Regions from separate parts of the Homo sapiens genome. Here all the other regions are linked to region 1. The links are contacts of gene promoters, found by promoter capture Hi-C in human tissues and cell types (Jung and others, 2019). All regions are on one chromosome and are shown on one strand. Each heading gives the region's core, a stretch centred on a gene start or on the middle of the fragment in contact. The rest is flanking DNA. Distances are from core to core; before and after follow the strand shown.

Evidence for each region. The method cuts DNA at HindIII sites, captures the fragments that hold promoters and counts their contacts. A contact is called where the count stands out against the background at its distance.
Region 2: a contact is called between a fragment that was not itself captured here and the fragment with the promoter of BICC1 in region 1, in 1 of the 25 tissues and cell types used here (H1 embryonic stem cells).
Region 3: a fragment that was not itself captured here is called in contact with the fragment with the promoter of BICC1 in region 1 in 2 of the 25 tissues and cell types used here (mesendoderm cells and thymus).
Region 4: a contact is called between a fragment that was not itself captured here and the fragment with the promoter of BICC1 in region 1, in 1 of the 25 tissues and cell types used here (dorsolateral prefrontal cortex).
Region 5: a fragment that was not itself captured here is called in contact with the fragment with the promoter of BICC1 in region 1 in 1 of the 25 tissues and cell types used here (dorsolateral prefrontal cortex).

The regions. Positions count from the first base shown.
Region 1 is chr10:58,510,540-58,514,691 of GRCh38, reverse strand. BICC1 (BicC family RNA binding protein 1) reads right to left here and starts at 1,820. Exons shown (of 21, transcript NM_001080512.3): 1 at 1,359-1,820. The coding sequence starts at 1,548. LOC124902427 (a long non-coding RNA gene) reads left to right here and starts at 2,640. Exons shown (of 2, transcript XR_007062147.1): 1 at 2,640-3,032. The HindIII fragment of the contact is 7,114 bases long and covers 1-4,152 here.
Region 2 is chr10:58,961,984-58,966,002 of GRCh38, reverse strand. No RefSeq gene overlaps it. Among named protein-coding and RNA genes, the nearest start is that of LINC00844, 36 kb to the left of the region's middle. RefSeq lists enhancers at 1,527-2,026, 2,027-2,528. The HindIII fragment of the contact is 6,472 bases long and covers 1-4,019 here.
Region 3 is chr10:58,767,953-58,771,642 of GRCh38, reverse strand. The region is part of intron 3 of BICC1 (BicC family RNA binding protein 1); the gene reads right to left. Among named protein-coding and RNA genes, the nearest start is that of LINC00844, 230 kb to the left of the region's middle. The HindIII fragment of the contact is 6,609 bases long and covers 1-3,690 here.
Region 4 is chr10:58,942,246-58,946,449 of GRCh38, reverse strand. No RefSeq gene overlaps it. Among named protein-coding and RNA genes, the nearest start is that of LINC00844, 55 kb to the left of the region's middle. The HindIII fragment of the contact is 3,652 bases long and covers 902-4,204 here.
Region 5 is chr10:58,788,837-58,793,048 of GRCh38, reverse strand. BICC1 (BicC family RNA binding protein 1) reads right to left here. Exons shown (of 21, transcript NM_001080512.3): 7 at 3,593-3,787; 8 at 3,116-3,367. Among named protein-coding and RNA genes, the nearest start is that of LINC00844, 210 kb to the left of the region's middle. The HindIII fragment of the contact is 4,619 bases long and covers 616-4,212 here.

The sequences.
Region 1 (4,152 bases), core at 571-3,070:
GAGAAAAAAAGAGAGGGAAGGGGAGAGACAGAGAAAGACATGACACACATTAGGGATGTTTGTCAATAAAAATAAGCAACAAGGGAGGAAAGCCTGTAGCACATCCAAAAAACGTCTGCCAAACACTCTTGCTATTTGTTTCCACCAAGTTATTGTTTTGGAAAACATGTTGTTCTCTCTTAAAATAACCTGCTTAATTGTTCTAAAAAGCCACTGCATTTCCACAGAGGGCTAAATCATTCCCATACTGCGATGCATTGACTGATAAAGTCAAAGTAAGTTATGCATAAAGCCACAAATAACGTTTGAAAAACTCCAAACTCCTCCATGATAAAAGAACACTAGCTACTGAATGAATCTTCACCAGCGCCCTAAGTGAGACTAACGCCTGGTCCCGTACACGTATTTTAAGAATAACAGTCATTCAAACTAACTCATTTCTCTCTTTGGATGTGGGAAATGAGCCACATCGGTGGCTACAGGTAGGCTAGTAATTATCTGTTTTAAGAAAGGTCAAAATGACCTTGGACGTTTTGACGTTCACTCCAACACTCGTATTATAAATCAGAATCTGTTTTCGGTCCAGTATGGTTGAAGATTTTCTACCTGGGAAAGTCCCAAAGAAATTAAAGAGTTAAAAATAATTCTAAGTTGTGAAAGACAAAGTCAGACACCCATAGCATAGGAAGATTTTTATGGACTGAATGTAACTCAAGATGTGTTTTATAAGCCTGTCAAGAGATGAACACTGTCCTCAAACACAGCAGCACTGCCTCCACACTCCCCCCTCGCTTTGGCTGCTCACCCCGATCCTGGCCCTCCTTGACCACAGGGGTGGGGGCGGGAGCTCCTGTCTTAAGCCTTGACATCTGCAGAGCGTTTCCCAATAGTGAGACAAGGCCCCTCAGCTGGAGGAAGTGGATACTGACAAGGGGAGAGAGTGAAACAGACGGAGAGAGACAGAACTCGAGGCTGCCAGGGAATGGGGAGGGTCACGCATACTCTGTGCGGCCCGAGTGGTCCGGATGGCACAGCCCAGGTGTCCGGGCTAAAGTTGGCATCTCCAAAGTCCAGAACGCAACTTGGGCGCGCCAGTACAAACTCGGCCTTCGGCTTTTCTGAAGCCAGTCAAGTTCGCACAGGGCCCCCAGCGCCTGGAAATCTGAGAGGCGTGGAAGGGTGGGGAGTCCCGCGAAGTCTCCAGTCCCTGGGTGTCCTCCGGCTCCGCGGGGGAGCGGGCCTGGAGCTAAACCGGCCGGCCGTAGGCTGGAGTAGCGGGCGCCGGAGCGCGCGGTGGGGATGTCCGAAAAGGAGTTAGAGGCTCAGTCGGAGAGTCCGAGAACACGAGGGATGCCTACCTTGTAACATGGCCTCAAGTTTCTTCCTGTCCACGCGGAAGCGCTCCTCGCTCCACTCCGGGCTGTGCAGGGTCGCCCCGGCGACCAAGTCGTCCTCGGAGCCGGGCACTGGGGAGTCGGTGCTGCGCTCGCTGTTGGAGCCGGGGTCCGACTGCGCCGCCAGGTAGCCGGGCTCTCCCTGGGCGGCCATGGTGGGCGCGCAGCGCTCGGGCTCCCGCTGCCGCCGCCGCTCTGCCTGCGCTGCCGCCTCCGCTCGCCGGCCGGGCTCAACTGGCTCCCAGCGCCGCGGCGCTAGCTCGTCCCCCTGCAGCCGCCGACGCCACCGCCAACGCCGCCGCCGCCACTGAGCCCCCGGCGCATCCCAGCCCCGGGCGCCGCCCACGCCACCCGCCACCCCGGGTCGCGGCCCCGGTCCGGGTCCAGTGGCTGCGCCGCCCCCCGCCAGCAACGCCCGCGCGGAATGAGCGCGCCGCGCTGCCCGCGCCTCCATCCGCAGGGCTCGGCGCCCCCTCCCCGCCCGCCGCCCCTACAGCCGCGCGCTCATTGGCCCGGCCAGCCCACGGGGAGCCGCGGCGGGCGGGCGGCCCCTGGCGCTCACACACTCGCGCGCGCACACACACACCACGTACACACTGCCACTTTCTGCACTTACACGTATAAATCCTTTCCATACATGCACTTTCATAGCTCCTCAAACACACACACTCCTGAACGCACATGGAGTATCCACGTAATTCCTGTCTACACACACACATCACACACACTACTACTTTTCTGCACTTACACATACAAATCTCTTCCCCCTACATGCTCTCATAATCCTCCAAACACACAAACACAAACACGCCAAGTTCAAGCACAGCAGAGTCCTGAACGCACACTAAGCGCATACACAATTCCGCTGTTTACATACATACCCTACACCCTGAAACTCACAGCCCCAGTTGGTTCCACAAGCTCGAACGTGAGGAAGAGGAAAAAGAAGGCTTGGAGAAGAAATCATGCCCGTCTTTCGCAGGCATCGCCATGGACGTGGCTCGCATGTAGTTCATACCTCCAGGAAGGGCTCAAACCCAGACACCTCGTCTCCTCCCAGCAAAGTGGCCCGCTGCACGAGAGGTGGACAAGAGGCTTACTCTTTTTATTCTGAGAAAGGGAATTTTTTTTTTTCTTGAATGGAGTAAGGAAGGAATTGTTTTCTCTGTGATTCTCAAGGAATGGACTCAGCAGACTTTTTTTTTTTTTTAAGTAGAAAAGGGGCTCGGAGATCGCTGTGTTGGCGAGCTGGATCCAGCTGGCACGTGGGCAGGGCTGTCTTGTCAGGGACTGAGGGCTTTTCTCTGTTTTCAAGGTCAGTCTCTGACAGATGACGGCCAGTAACCTCTGAGCCTCACTGCCGAGGGCCAGCCCACCCACGGCCTCTGTCAAGCTTGGATATGAAGCGCGGGGGAAGAGGAGACTCGCTCGTACTGGGTGTGCCCTTGGAACTCTGTTTTCCCAGTTCACACAGATTCATAGCCTATTATTTTATGACCCAAAGTACAAAGACTTGCGGGGAGGAATGATGGGGATAGCAGTTTGTCACTGCGCCACAGAAGGAGGCTGCCTGGCTCACATGTAGGAAGAGCCATATCACTGGCACAGGCCTCTGGATAATCATGGAATATGCTGAAGGTAAATCAAAATTATTTCAGGTTCAGCTGCCTAGTTAACAGGAATTGACCCTGTGATGGGTACAGATGAGGAAACTGAGACCGTGGGAAATAAAGTAACTTGACTAAGGTTGTCCAGCAGCAGATAATACAGCCAATTAATCAGACCCAGGTCTGTGGGTCTTTATATAAAGTCTTACCTTTTTGAGCGGAGACCCCTCCTGCCCAGAGTCACCTCCTGAAGAACTGAGAGCATCTGCACACTTAACTGCTCTGATTCACCACCATGTGTTCCTTTTATAAACTTGTTAATTACTGTTAATTTCTATCCAAGGCACTAGTTTCAGCACCCAAAGGGTTTATGTAGGAGCATTCCCACTGTTTTCCATCAGGGACATTTACTGTGTTTTTCTATCAACAAATATTTATTGGGACCCTACTATGTACTTGGCACTGTTAAGCCCAAGGAATAGTAAGCAAAGACAGACACATCCCTGTACTCCCTCCTGGAGCTGAAATTCTAATGAGAAGGAATACTGACCAAAAAATAAATCACAAATATAAAATCATGCCCGCAGTAAGCATTACAAACAAGAGACTCAAGATATGAGAAAACCTATGATAGAGTAATTGGATTCAGTCAGAGAGGTCAGTGAAGGCTTCTCGAAACAGTGACTCTAACTCAGAACAGACGTTGGAAGAGAAGTTAACTAGGCAAGGGAAGGAAGAGCCATCCCTGCAAATGATCATCTGATCATAGTAACATCCCTGAAGGTAGATACTACAATTATCCTCATTTTAGAGTTGAGGAAACTGAGGCACAAAAGGTAAAATGACTTGCTCAAGGTTGCACGACTAAGTTGAAGAATAAGAATTTGAACCCAGGCAGTCTCTTGAAAATTAGGCTTCAGGTGCTTTATGCTTAGCCAATAAGTTATATTGGCTCTCAATAAGATTAGCACAAGTAAAGACACTGTAGCAGAAGGGGGCAGTATGCATTCCCCCATTGGATGAACTAAAAGAAGGCCAGCGTAGCTGGTACAAGGAAACAAGGAATTAGGACTCACTGGGGCAGGAGTTATAAGTAAGAGGGGGCATATGTAAGCAGCATAGGTCAAATTAAGGAGTTTTTGTCTTTATCC
Region 2 (4,019 bases), core at 1,425-3,924, 450 kb before region 1:
TATAGGCTAGTACGCAGACAGTGAAACTGCTGCAGCAGAGGGAAACACAAGATACTCTGGAAAAGCAGAAGAGACTAGAAAGAGGAAAATAAAGTTAGTTTTGGGGTCTCAGGAACACTTCCTGCAGGGGCAGTTCTCAAACATGAGTTCTCAAACGTTAGGATCACCTGGAGGACTTTTAAAACACATCCTGCTGGCCCTCACCCTAGAGTTTCTGATTCAATAGGTATGGTTTGAGACCTGAGAGTTTGCATTTCTAGCAAGTTCCCAGGCCATACTAATGCTGCAGGTCTGGAGACCATGCTTTGAGAACCACTGTCTTAGAGGAACTGAAGTCTCAGCCTTTGCTACCCAAAGTATGGTCTGCAGACGAACAATATGAGCCTGCAGCATGAGCCTCACCTAGGAGCTTATTAGAAATGCAGAATTTCAAGTCTTATCCTAGATGTACTCAGTCAGAATCTGCATCAAGATTACCAGGTAATACTTATACACAGTAAAACACTGGTTCTCAAACTTGCTTGCACATTGAAATCACCTGGGGAGTTTAATCAAATCCCCATCCCTGGATTCCATTCCCAGAGATTCTGATTTAATTGGTACAGGGGATGAAAAGCTCTCTGAGACGTTTCTAATGTGTGGTATACTTTAAGAACCACTGACCTAAGCTAAATGCATCCTGGGTAAGAGCGCCACAAAGAAAGGCAGGAAGAGTGTTACAGGCCAACAGAATGTGCAAAGGCTCAGTGGCAAGACAGAACAAAGTGGTTTAGTGAAAGGAGGGTGGGGGTGCACTGAGCTCAGAGTGTAGTTAGAGAGAGGGAAAGTGATGGGTTTTGAGGCTAGAGGTTTTTCCCTGATGATCGAACACACTCAGATTCGCATTTTAAAAATGAACAGTTTGTTGGCCATGTGGAAATAAGCCTAGGGGTGTGGAAACAATGTGCCTGGTGTTAAGGTTGAAATTTTGACTGTATAGAAACATTTATTGTTGCTCTTACTGAGAATTATTCATTTCCAGGAACAGTGCTCTTTAAACTAAAGATAAGGGCTAAAGGATAGGGGTGGAGGCAAAGAAAAGCAGTGCTGAAGGGTAGCAGAGTATGCCACCCCAAAATATGCCACTTTAACATAAGGATTATTTTGAGCTGAAGCTTCATTGAGAAGAAGCAGATACAAGAAAAGCTCTCTGCCTAAAAGCAGGACATAAGTTTGTAAAGGTGTTCCCCCTCCCCTCTCTACCTGAAAGGACAGAAATTAATCACTGAAGACAACTCTAGACCTTTATCAGCCCAGAGGCAGACCTTGCTAAAAACAACCCTTATTTTCCATTAGTTCCCCCAATATATTTACCTTTCCACAATTTACCAGTGCCTAGAAGCTCTAAGTCCTTTTCCCTTGTCTTGTCCCTTCTCTCCTAATTCATTGTTCTCAAGATGCTATAGAAGCTGAAATTTTAACTACCCCTTTAAGTCACTCGCTACTGAGTACCCCCATGGCCATGGGCATTGAATATACTAACAAACTTCTGTTTTGTTTTGTTTTGTTTTCTAGTTAACCTGACTTTTGTCAGTCTCATTTACAGGCCTGCAGAAGGAGAACCAAACAGGGTAGAGGAAGAAGATGTTGTTTCCTCTCCTGTGCTACCAACCAATCTATAAGGCTTCATTTTGGCACTTTGGCTTTCACTGTTTGATTTAACCAATATTTACTGAGCATTATGTACCAAGCCCACTGCTGTGGAAGCTGAATCCAGATCTCTGATGCCCTCCCTTAGCAAAGAGTTGAAAGTTGGGGGAACTCAGACAACAAGTGATTTTTCTAAAGAGCATTAGTTTGAGTCTGGTTGAAAATTTGACAGTGCCGTTTAATGGGAGGATTCTGTGCCATCCAACTCCACTTAAGCCCTTAGCTAAGCCATCAAATGGCCCCATTCATGCTGCAGCTGCAGAATTCCTGAGGCCATGCCAGTGGGCCCCAGGAATGCAAACGAGGGCTCGGTCTTGGCTTCTGACACCCTGTGAGCTTTGAGGAAGAACAAGTAGGCATTTGTTAGGGGAAGGCCCACAAAGGCACCACAGGAGAGGGGATTGAATGCCCCATGGGATTCCAGGCCAAATGCAAAAGGCTGGTGTAATCTCTGCCACCACAGCTTGTGTGACCTCACTTGCTCGCTGGCTGTGGGGGCAGCTGATAGCCCAGCCTGCTGAGGCAGGGTCCCTAAACAGAGCAGGGGTGGCAGCTCTTCAGGAATACAGTCTGTACTCTATTACCCACCAGGTAAGGATTATGTGAAGCCAAGCCATGTAAAGGAAGCAAAGACTTTGAAAGGCAAGAGGAGGATAAAAGCATTTTTTTTCCTGCAATCTCTGGGACATTCCTCCCATCTGTACCCAAGAGGGAGGTAGTGAAAAAAGAACATGGGTTGCAGGTAGAATAACCTTAAAAGGCTTACAGAAAGCAGCAGAAAATCAAACCATTTCTAGAACATTCTTTGTGAAATTCAGTTCTCCCCATAACTCAGATATTGTCAATTTGCTCTTGAAGTTCGATTTTGCTGTAGTTGCCAGTGATATGGTTGCTTATATTACCCAAAGGCTATGTTCTGACATCATGGAGCAGCACCCCCAATGGCACTCTGGGTATTAGCACCTTTACATATTATATGGTGACTTAGACTATGCATACAGAACAGAATTACTCAGCCTCAGCACTGTTGACACTTTGCACAACGTAATTCTTTGTTGTAGGGGCTGTTCTGTGCATTTTATGTGTTTAGTAGCATCTTTGGCCTCTATTCAGTAGATGCCAATAGCGCCCCTCCTGGTCATGCTGTTGAAAATATCTCCAGGAATTGCCACCTGTTCTCTGGGGACAAAATTGCCCTCAGTTAGGAACCATTGGTATAGAGGAAAGGTGGAAGAAGATTTTGTTTTAAAATCCTTCAAGAGAACAAAAGAGGAATTGTTAGTCTTTGTTGCTTACAATTAGTAGTTTCCCTACAGGAATGAAGTCTTCAATACCCGTAGAGTTGCATAGGATTTTTACCTTCAACATAAAATAGAAGTCCTACATAATAAGAAAACAGCAAGCCACAGTTACCATTGGTTGATTCAGTCAAATCAGCCCAACAGTTTGTTGATGTTCACTGGACATTGTCTTCGCTTCAACTATATGCTCACTATTGTTCTAGGTGCTCGTGCAGTCCACACACTGTCGGAATAATTTGATTAAACAATAATGCCCAAAAGATTGCCTTTGGGAGGGCTTTAATGGTGTTACGCAGGAAAATAATGGAGCTGTAGAATACAGAAGTTATTTTCAGCTGGACCCTGAGGTGGAAATGACTTTTTCCATGCCCCAAAGTTTCAAAATACTTCTCTCATTGTCATAATGCACAAAATATGGCTGATCACACAGAGAAAGCATAACTGTGAAAGTGAACCCAGATATAAGAATTTAGGAGCCGGGAGAGACAGAAAAACAGAAAGACAGGCAGATCTACAATAACAAGCAGCCAACTTAATTAAGAAGAATATCAAGCAGTCTGCATTTTAGAAAGCAGAAAACAAAATCCTACAGAAGCAAGAGATGAAGCCTTGGTCTTTTGAACAACTTGAAAAATTATATCAGCAAAAATGTAAGAATATTCTCTGAAATGTAAACTACAAGGGCAGAGATTCTTTCTTCTCTTTTGTTCATATCTTTACCTAGGCCTTTCTCCCTAGTGTCTAGAACAATGTCTGGTGCTGGTAGGTACTCAATAAATATTTGTTAAATGAATTCTGCAATTATTAATAACGGACCTGAAATAAGAAACCTAAGTGTTGTCTATACTCTATGGGATCCACAGAGAAGAACTAGACTATGTTAGCACTAAGATTATTACCTCAAAATGCTCAAAGACCAGTAAGCATATGTCTACATAACTCATGAGATAACTTGAAGGGGATTCTAATGACCAATTTTAAACAAATGGAGGGGGCAAATGAAAATATTGGATATGTACATTGAATAAA
Region 3 (3,690 bases), core at 1,016-3,515, 260 kb before region 1:
TGAAACCACTGGATACTGTACTATTATTTTGGCTCCATCAGTCCAATCCTCACCACATTAAGGTTAACACAAATGTCATGTTTTGTCAGGCCCCTCCAGTGCAAAGTAAATCTCTACCTCCGCTGGTTTCCCGTGACACTGCTTGTTCCCTTAAAAGGCCTATTACATGCTACCCCATTATCCATATACCTGCTTTCATCAGTCTGTAGGCCCTGTGATCTAATGGGAGACACTGTGCCCAGTTTTTATACCCCTCACAAAACAGACTATGTATCAAGTTTTAGAACACAAGCATTAGATAACTATCTGGATTTCACTAGAGTGACTGATATCTATTTCCTCATAATTTTTGTGCCTTTATTCCCCCTTCCTCTATATTAAAAATGTCATCCCCTTAGCATATCCATGACAGCCCTTCAGACTCTGGCACAGCCACCAACTGTTACATTCTCAATCACTTTTTCTTTGGGCAATCAATCACCCTACTTCTCTCAGTGGGTCCTTCTGTGAACTCACTCTAAGTCAGGCAACTTTAATTTTTTGAATCCTCAATCTCTAGCATAGGCTATGGAATAAAGTAGGTGTCCATAGAAATAGATTGTTGTAAGGATTAAATCATAGTAAGTAAGATAACATAATGGGCTTAGCAGTGTCTTTGACACAGTAAATACTCCATAAATGTTAGTTATTAGTAACTAAATGAAGGATTACGACAATAGTTACCATTTCAGCTCTTATTTCTTCTTATATCTTTTTAGAGATGTTTTCTGATTAGCAGAGCCCAACAGGTCTACATAATCTCCGAATCCCTCTGTCAAATCTGCCTAAGATGGCATTTATAACAGCATTGCAGACACATCACATGCTGGTGCAGAGTGACTTTTAACAACCAAAATCTCAGAGCCTTCTCATATCAACTGGTGTTCAGCCTTGTATTCCTCCCCTCCCTGGATTGTCCCATTAAGTATAAACAACCTTTTTATTATGGTTTTAGTATAAATTATAATAAAATGTCTTATATTAGTTGTATTATATCAGTGTTTGTGTTTTTTTTTATGGTAAATTCCTATTGGGTTGTTGGTACCATCCTCATAAAGAGATATATGATCAAGGGAATCCAAACATATAATTCTTATTCTCAGATTAGTAGAGAAATTTTTTTATACTATTTGACATTTGATATGTTTATTTTCCCTCACTTTTAAGGAGTATTAAGAATGTACAACATATCAGCATAATTACTTGGTGGAGAAAGGTTCACTCTGCAGTTTATGAGAAAGTAACATTTGATGAAAAGCAATAAAAAATGGGACATATTCACTTTGCCATCATCTCACTGTTTCTCAAAAAAAGAAAAAATGTCAGACTAGAATATTATGACTCAATAGAAATTCTAAAACCTGAAAAATCAATGAAGACTAATTTACCACAAATTCCTAACATTTCTACAATATATATTTTTTCACAGCAGAGCCTCTCAATGATACCTACATATTAGAAAATATAGCAAAGGAGTTTTATGCAACACTTCTAAATAAATTAAATGAACTTATATCTGCTAAAGATTATAAAAGATTACACCGAAATTTATAAAATTTTTATTTTGCAATTATAATTAAAACTGTAAGAACCGATTTTGACAGCTTTGACTGAACATATAATAAAGATATGTAAACCTGAAATATTTTGTAGCACTACTTTTACGCTTTTCAAATGTTCATGCTAATCAGTACGAAAGTCCACAACCCACACTCCTTTAATACTTCCTATTTTAATGACCATTTTTAGAAATTTAGGCCCAAAGTCTTGGATATTTTGAGTTCCCCTCAGCTCCCTAGCTGGTAAAATATAAATAAGGTACAGGTAGTAAAGTACACTATATGAATACAGTAGAATCTCAAAAGAAAAAGCCATTGATATTCATAAAAATATTTTCTAAACAAAAATAACAATAATTGATCCCTAGGTTTAGAACTGTTTATGTAAATATAGTTGTGCCAATAGTAGTTCAGACTGCACAATGAAAACATGGGAGAAACAGAAATCTTTAAATCAAACAATATATGGGAAATGGTACTTATATTAATAATGGGACAAAATCATTCCCTGATGAAATGTGGACATGAAAGGAGTGACTGCTTTGAAAATGGTGAGTTTTCAAGCTTAGGAGTGATTGACAAATAAAAAGTATATCTATTAAAGATATATACTGTGATTATATATATATATATATATATACACACACACACACACACACACACACACATACATTATAAAACTATTACCACAATCAACATATCTATCACTTCACATACTGACCTCTGTGCGTGTGCATGTGTGTGTGTGTGTGTGTGTGTGTTGAGAACATTTAAAATCTACCCTGTTAGCAAATTTCAAGGGTATATTATGAGCTATAGTCACCACACTGTACACTAGGTCTCCAAAATTTATTCATCTTATAAATGAAAGTTTGTATCCTTTGACCAACATCTCCCCATTGTCCTCACACTCAATCCCTGTTAGTACAATTCTACTCTCTGTTTCTATGAGTTCAACTTTCTTAGATTTGACATATAAGTTATATTATGCAGTATTTGTCTGTTTGTGTCTGGTTTATTTCGCTTAACATAATGTCCTCCAGGTTCATCCATGTTGTCACAAATGGCAGTATGTCCTTTTTTCTAAGGCTGAATAACATTCCATTGTGGACTTACTATTGCCATTTTGTTGTTTTCTGATTGTTTTGCAGTTGTTTTGTTTCTTTATACCTCTCTTGGTATGTTCCTTTGTAATTTCATGATTTTCAATAGTGGTATGGTTTGATTCTTTATCTTTTGTGTATCTACTATAGATTTCTGTTTTGATGTTACAATGGAGTTACACAAAACATCTTATAGTTATGAGTCTATTTGAAGCTGGTAACTCTACACTTTTACTCCCCATTTTTTTTGATGTTATGATTTACTTTTTTTATATTGTGTCTCCATTAACATTGGTGTAGCTATAGTTATTTTTAATACTTTTGTCTTTTAACATTTATACTAGAGTTAAAATGAATTTAAACACCATCATTAGGATATTGGAGTATTCTGAATTTGCCTACATATTTATTTTTACCAGGGAGTAAAAATACTATATTTTCATGCTACTAATTGGTGTCTTTTCATTTCAGCTTGAACAATTTCGTTTACCATTTCTTGTAAGGCAGTCTTAGTGGTGATGAACTCTCTTAGCTTTTGTTTGTCTGGGATAATCTTTATCTCTCCTTCCTTTACAAAGGACAGCTTTGCTGAGTAAAGTACCATTGAAAGACAGTTTTTTCCTTTCAGCACTTTGAGTATATCATCCCACTCCTTCGTGACCCGTGGGATTTCTGCTGAGAAGTCAACTGATAGTCTTATTGATAGTCTAACTGACAGTCTTCTTTTATGTGTGACGAGTCTCTTTTCTCTTGCTGTTTTCAAAATTCTCTGTCATTGATTATTGACAATAAGATTATGTGTCTTGGTGAAGTTTTATTTTGGTTGAACCTGCCTGAGGACCTTTGAGCCTCATAACCTGGATGTCCATATCTTTCCCATGATATGGGAAGTTTTCAGCCATTATTTATTTAAGTAAGATTTCTACCCTTTTCTTTCTTTTCTCCTTTGAAGACTCTCATATTGCATATATTATTTCTCCTGATGGTAT
Region 4 (4,204 bases), core at 1,478-3,977, 430 kb before region 1:
GCCGAGCCTCCAGAACAAAATGCCACCTCACCACACCTTCTTTTAGCCCAGGGAGACCCCTGTCAACTTCTGAGCCCCAGAACTATACAATATAAACTTTGTGTTGTTTTAAGCTACTAAGTGTGGGTATTTTGTTGTGCAAAGACTAGAAAACAAATGCACTGTCTACCCTTTGTTCTACTTACATTCTATGCAGACACCTTATAGAGCAGCTAGGTTTCCTGCTTTTGTGACTTGGTCCACATTGCTTCCTCTACATGTAATGTCTTTCCTAGTCTCTTTTCTCCCATCTTATCCCTCATGCAACCTGAAGCTAACTATTATTTGATAAGGACTTAGTTCAAGCATCCCTTCCTCTAGAGAGCCTTTTCTAAATACCCAAATTAATCTCCCTCTTCCCCAAACCTAGGGTAGACTCCATTGCTCCCATCTCTATGCTCCCATCACACCGTGTGCAGATGCCCATTTCAGCACTGTATTGAAAGTGTCTGTCTACAGACTGTCACCCCTTCTTGGTATGGATACCCCTTAAGGTCTGGACTCCTACTGAAGTGCCCATCAGTGGGTCTTTGATGAAAATACGGATGTGAACAAAGGCTTGGGGCAACACACATCTTTAATTATGTTCCCAAACCAAATGGGATAACAAATATGAAATACTCCCAATTTACTAGCAATATTACATTTTATTAATGGAGCATTTTTATTTGTATTTTTTTACTTTTCAAAACACTTGTTCCATACAGCCCTACAGTAGTTTTAGCTTAACAGTGGGGGATATGTTCCAAGACTCTCAGTGGATGCCTGAAACCATGGACAGTACAAAACCCTACAAATATGTTTTTTCTTAAACATGCATACCTATGATAAAATTTAATACATCAATTAGATATATTAAGAGATTAACAATAGTATATAATAAAAAAGACAGTTATAACAATATATTGTTAATAAAAGTTATCGGAATATGATCTCTCTCTCTCTCTCCCTCTACATATCTTCTTGTACTGAACTCTTTTTGTGATGATGTGAGACGATGAAATGCTTGCGTGACGAGATAAAGTGAGATTATGATGCATCATTTAAAACTTATAATTTTTCTAAATTATTTCTGGAATTCTCCATTTAATGTTTTCAGAACTGCAGTTGACTATGGGTAACTGAAACCATAAAAAGGTGAAACTGCAGATAAATGGAAACTATGGTATTTGGCTTTGAACTCCATTAGGAGACAAGATACCACCACCCTCTACATCTGGAGGCATCTGAAAACACAGAACATTCTTATGACCAGATGTTTTCCTACTGTTTATTTTGAAATTCAAAGTTGGAGAAGAATTAAACTTAGCTACTTTGTTTCCCAGAGGAATTTCTTCATTCTGTCCCAATTCTGATGGCTACCAGTGCTCGTCTTTTCAATGCAGACTCTCTTCTCCATTCAATGTTTCAGACTCCCAGGGTATATTCAGCAGACTATTTGACCCACACTGCCTAGGATTTACTAATCCTATTGACTCTTACAAATGACTGACTTGACCCTGTACTTGGGGAAATTCTCTGGCTATCTGCCTACACTCAGGACACTTAGGATTTACAACGGATTCCTGGCTGTGCATCCACCAACCACATTGAGAATCTATCTCCAGACTTATCTCCTTCACATGTGTTAGTCAGCTTTTGACTTGATGATGCTTGATCGTACATACTGAATGAGAATGTAAAGCCAAACCTCTTCTTAACACAGGTTGTATGAGCAGCAACAAAAAAAGAAAAAGAAAAAACTGGCAGAAACAGAAGGAAGAGTATGGCTTACAAAAAGAGAGTTCAAGGAAAAGGAACTACTGCTTCTCTGTGCCTGAGGCTCAAGAAAGGTAACAGAGATCAGGACTAGGAACAAAGAGGGAGTAAAGGAGAGAGAAAAGTACTTTGGCAAAATGTTTACATGGGTCTTTTTCTGCCATTGACACGCTATATTACCAGATTCCTTACAACATGCACATTCTGTTCAGCACTTGTCTAATACATGATATGATGTGAAGGTTCTTTCATTTCCACTCCTCAAAAGATACAGGGAGGGCAGAGAGAGCTGAACACCCTGCTATCTCAAGAGATATAATGAATGTTCTAGAATAAGGGGTTCCATGGTCAGAAAAAAATTAAGAAAAGGAAACACTGGATTAAGCAAAACAAAATTAATCAGGCTTCTTTGCTGCAAGACTTAGGAACTTTATCATCCTAACATGTGCTAAGATTCAAAGAAAGAGTTTATGTTGCAAACTCACTTGGCCAGAAACAATTTTGTCAAAGGAACATCTATTAATATCTTGGTGTTCAGTTTGAAAAACACTCCCCTAAACATTCCTCCAAAGCATATAATACCTGAAATGTAGTAGGCTTTCAATAAATGTTTGACCAGTGAATGAGAGCCAAAATTTTCAAAATGACCCAACAAAACCCTTTACCACAGTGTTTCTCTATCAGAAAATGCAAATAGATTTCATGAACGTATTTTTCTCAGGTCAACAAAATGTTTACAGGCAGTAAATACACTACTTTGTTCCAAAATCTACTGCCAACTAGTCAAAGAAAGTATAATATCAATTATACCCAACCCAACACTCTTTACATTTTCAGTTGGCTTGTTTTCATCTCAGGGAGGAGGATAAAATGATGTCAAATAGAAGGCATTTGAGGAGGTACTTGTAAGAACCCAGCAGCAGCCCCCTAGCAAGTCTCAACATGTGACAAGAGGAATGTCATCCAAAATAACTCTAGACAAAAATGCAACAAAAGTCTGGCAGAGGCCAATTAATCAAGAGAAAAATCACAGAGAGCACTCAAGATCTTTGGCCCTACTTCTAGTCTTACTTTTGGGACTTTCAAATTATTTGTTTGAAACTAATCCCTGTGAATGACTATTGAACCTTCCCCAATTTTCTGAAGACAAGAGATTCTTTCCCACTTTGTCAAACTTTGTCAAAAAACAAAATTGTGATTAAGCAACAAGCTTGAAGCATTCTTCTACCATTGTATCATCTGGTTGTCTAACCGCATTGGTTGGTTGGTTTGGTTTCCTATCAATATAGCTTGAGTAACATGAACAGTCAATATTTTCCCCTCTGAGTATTTTCCCAAGGTTTTTCTAACTGTGTTACTACATTTCTTTATAGTTCAAAATTTTTTCTGCTCTGTTCTTTCCTAGATGGCCATAATAAAAAACAATACCCATTTAATGTCTTCCCCTACTTCAGAAAATTTTATTGTTTTCCTCTGTGATTTTGCTCCACCTACTTGGACGTTTATACCAACAATATAATATCATAATTATATGCTACCTTGTTTTGTGTTCTAACAGTTATTATTCAGGTCTCCCCAGCATGTCTGATTGTCCTGCAGTGCCTTCAGGATGAAGTGCAGATGGCTTTGTTCCAATATGGGAGCCTGGATGTTGTCATCTTAATACTCCATCTGATAACAGGTCAGTTTTATCCCTGACACTGGTAGATTGTACCCTAGTACTCAGGAGACTTGGCATGAAAGGAGAGTCAGTAGGAAGAACAAAACCAGAAGCCAGGTTGCAGAAACTGGGACACATAGGAGTTGGGATAGCTAGGACTCTGGATCAATATGAGAGTACATTTGTCATCACTGGGCAGCAGGCTCACATATCTGGGAAAGTAGCAAAGCTGTCTTTCCTCTCCCTACTTCCTAGAATCTCTCCACCCTCATCCCATACTCTTCCCTCAGTTGTTCCCTGCACCCATGCCTTGCCTCACTGCAATCTCTGCTTCCCAGATTCAAGCAATTCTCCTGCCTCAGCCTCCTGAATAGCTGGGACTACATACATGCACCACCACACCCAGCTAATTTTTGTATTTTTAGTAGAGACAGGGCTTCATTATCTTGGCCATGCCGGTCTCGAACTCCTGACCTCAAGAGATCCACCCGCTTTGGCCTCCCAAAGTTCTGGCATTACAGGTGTGAGCCACTGCACCCAGCCCAGGCGAGGTTATTTTGAACTGGCATAGAAAAAAGCACAATTAACTTAACTTAGTAATCTAGAGATCACAAGTGAAGGAAATAAGACAGAGGGCAGCTCAGAGATTACCTTTCCTTACTAACCCCGTCTCATGCACCTATGCCTGCTACACCAACCAGGCTGCTCACCCTGACCTTAATATACCATACTCACTTAAGATGAGCC
Region 5 (4,212 bases), core at 1,676-4,175, 280 kb before region 1:
CATTTTAGCCCAGACTTGCTTGTTCAACCACAGATTTATATCTGTATGTCTTCCCCTTCCTCCAGGTTAGGCCAGCCTCCCAACGATCCTTTAAGAGGATCTTGTACTTTGGTATCTTAACTCAGGGGTCCCCAACCTTTCTGGTACCACAGACCAGTTTCACAGAAGACAATTTTTTCATGGACCAGGGGAGGGGGAGGGAAGGGGGATGGTTTCAGATGATTCAAGCACATTACATTTATTCGGCACTTTATTACTATTATTATCACATTGTAATATATAATTAAATAATTATACAACTCACCATAATGTAAAATCAGTGGGAGCCCTGAGCTTGTTTTCCTGCAACTAGACGGTCCCATCTGGAGGTGATGGGAGACAGTGACAGATCATCAGGCATTAGATTCTCCTAAGGAGCATGCAACCTAAATCTCTTGCATGCACGGTTCACAATAGGGTTCATGCCCCTATGAGAATCTTATGCCACTGCTAATCTCACAGGAGGTGGAGCTCAGGCGGTCATGTGAGTGATGGGAAGCCTCTGTTAATACAGATGAAGCTTCCCTTGCTTTCCTCCTGCTGTGTGGCCTAGTTCCTAACAGACCACTGACCAGTATTGGTCCGGTCCTTGTCCCGGGGATTGAGGACCCCTGCCTTAACTCATCAAAAGCTTCTTCACCAATATAAATCCTACTTAACCTAATGCAGTTTAAACCTTTCCTCCTTCCTGGAGTAAATTGTTACTACTGTCCCTTCTTTTAACTACCTCATTTTTTAGATTTTTTTTTTTTCTCTAATGCTCTACTCACAGCCTCTGATCTACTGAGTCTAGGAACAATGTAATATACTTTCTCTGATGCACAGAATTTCCAGTGTTAGCCCACTGGGTGCTGGAATTTGTAAATGGATATCAGGAGAGGTTACCATTAAGCACACTAGGATTAAAATGAATTACTAAGCCGGGAACCATGGCTCATGCCTGTAATCCCAGCACTTTGGGAGGCTTAGGTGGGTGGATCACTTGAGGCCAAGAGTGCAAGATCAGCCTGGCCAACATAGTGAAACCCCATCTCTACTAAAACTAAAAAAATTAGCCAGGCATGGTGGCATATGACTGTAATCTCAGCTACTCGGGAGGCTGAGGCATGAGAATCACTTCAACCCAGGAGGCAGAGATTGCAGTGAGCTGAGAACACACTACTACACTCCAGCCTGAGCAACAGAGTAAGACCTCACCTAAACTAAAAAAAGAAAAAGAAATAAAATACTATGCTCCATTTCTCCTGTGGAAGAAATTGATTTTTTTTTTTAAACGGAGTCTTGCTCTGTCACCCAGGCTGGAGTGCAGTGGCGCGATCTCGGCTCACCGCAACCTCCACCTCCGCGGTTTGAGCAATTCTCCTGTCTCAGCCTCTTGAGTAGCTGGGATTACAGACCTTCACCACTATGCCCGGCTAACTTTTCTGTGTATTTTTAGTAGAGATGGGGTTTCACCATATTGGCCAGGCTGGTCTTGAACTCCTGACCTTGTGATACGCCTGCCTCGGCCTCCCAAAGTGTTGGGATTACAGGTGTAAGCCACCGCGCCCAGCCAGGAAGTGATTTTTATAAGAATAGTGCTATACAAAATGGTGATGGTATTTAAAATACGGGTTAAAGCCTTTTAATTTCTCCTTCAGTTATTTCAATGTTGTGCAATAATATGAGTCATTATTTTTGGCAGGTATGGTCAAAGTATAAATGTGCATTAATAACTGTAGAGAATATTTGAAAAATTTCACTAAACTAAAAAATAACATCTAAAGAACTTGTAAAGCAGAAAAAAAATGAAGATTACAACAATTCTTGGATATAAATATAAATCTGACTTGTAGTACAGTATATTAAAAATAACCTGATAAAATAAGCTCGGCTAAAAAAAATCATGACAAATTTCTTAAAATCGTGGATTACAATCTTACTGATTCCAACAAGTTCTTGTCTGTCAGAGGAATGGAATCAACAATAAAAACTTAGATTTTCTGAAAGTTTCTCAAAAATAAACTCTGCAAGTTAATAATAGTAAATGTCACACCTGAGGCTTACTGATTCAAATGCCACTAAAGGTCAAGCACTGAATGAGAGAATACAATGGTGTTTTTAATACAAATATTTGTAAGCCCAGCATCATGTCCATCCATTTTGTTACTACATTATCAACCCATACACTGGGATAGTTTATTTCATTCCATTTCATTTATTTCATTTTTGAAATGCAGTGCAGTGGTGCCATCTGGGCTTACTGCAACCTCTGCTTTCTGGGTTCAAGCAATTCTCCTCCCTCAGCCTCCTGAGTAACTGGGATTACAGGCACCTGCCACCGCATTGGCTAATTTTTATATTTTTAGTAGAAATGGGGTTTCACTATGTTGGCCAGGCTGGTCTTGATTTTGACCTCAAGTGATCTGCCCACCTTGGCCTCCCAAAGTGCTGGGATTACAGGCATGAGGTACCGCACCTGGCCGAGGGGTTTTAAACAAATATGGGAAGGATAGAAATATTGCAATTATAAATTAGAAGTAGTAAAGTAGTATTGAATTATAATATATAACTTTGCTTTTCTTCCTTCAATAAGTGACGCTCGAATTTGTGACTTAAATAGTATTTTTTAATTGGATCAAAGATTTATGAAATGTACAAATGTTTTGGGCTGACAAAATTTGTCTTTGATGGTGAAATTTAAATAGTATTTTTACTTTTCTGTTTAAACAGAGGACTTTTTTTTTTTTTGCCAAATACAAACTGCACACTAATATTACAGGTCAGATGAAAACAGTCACCTTCCATCCTTGCCACAAAATGCAGTCAATTATTTCACTATAATTCTCTTCTGTGTTTAGTCTAAGTTAAAAAGAAAACACTGAAATAAAATTACATATGCAATGAAATTAAACCTGTTGAGGCACTATGAACCTTATTACTCTTCCAGTTTATTTCCTTTTAGCAAGAAACTTCCTTATTTGACGAGGCTTCCGAAGTGCTTTCCTAAATATCACATTAGTACAGTGGATGGAAAAACATGCACTGAATCCAAAGAGGTTTAAAAAAATTGTAACACTTATTTCAGTAACCTTACCATGAGATATTGCCTTGCAAGACAGACAGACTCAATGGTGCCCTGGAGGTAGACGGTAGATTTCTTTTGTGGATTACTGGGATCAGGAAAGTGGATCTGAGCACCTGTTCTCTGCATGATATGTTTGATGTTGCTCCCATTTCGACCCATCATAAAGAGATGATGTTGAGCTGCAATATCTAGTTGTGTGCTCACAGGAATAGCTGATGCTAAGCTCCCAGCAAGATGTTCTAACAGCATGGCAGTTCCTTCCTAAGAGAAAAGGGTGGGAAAGAAATAATCCTATACATTAACTGTTCATATACGGGGAAAGATTCTATTGCATTTCTAACAGCTATGGAAAAATACAGCATATTCTGCAAACCAAAATGTAGAACGAAGGAAAATTCTGGAAATCAAATTAGTCTAATATTCTTTAAAAATGAAACTCATGTAACTTGTACATATAGGATGTGCAGAATTATCTGAATAATTTACCTTCACAGCACTAGTGTTATTCTGAGACCCTCGTACTATGACAGTAGCACCATACATTCGGGAACGCTGTTTAAATGATACTGAAATATTGTACGTTTGTGATATATGCTGAATAGAGGGGGAATTAGGATCAGGAACCGGTTGAAGAATTCCAGCAATTGGTAGCTCAAACATCAGCACCAAAGGAAGCAGCTCCTAAAATGAAATGATGAGAATCCAAAGCAGAGAGTTAAAGCATTAGACATTCAGACATGTGTATCATTCATTGGTTCTTTTCTGAAGATAGATTTTAAAGCATAAACTGCCCTTATAGATATTAAGTTTAGCTACATTATATAAAGTTTTTTTTTTTCCTTTCTGTTTTTTGAGTCAGAGTCTTGCTCCGTCACCCAGGCTGGCATGCAGTGGTATCATCCCAGCTCACTACAGCCTCCACCTCCTGGGCTCAAGGATCCTCTCACCTTGGCTTCCTGAATTAGTGGCACTACAGGCATGTGCCACCATACCTGGCTAATTTTTAAAAATGTTTTGTAGAGACAGACAGGGTCTTGCTATGTTGTCCAGGCTGGTCACGAACTCCAGGCCTCAAGTGATCCTCCTGCCTTGGCCTCCCAAAGTGC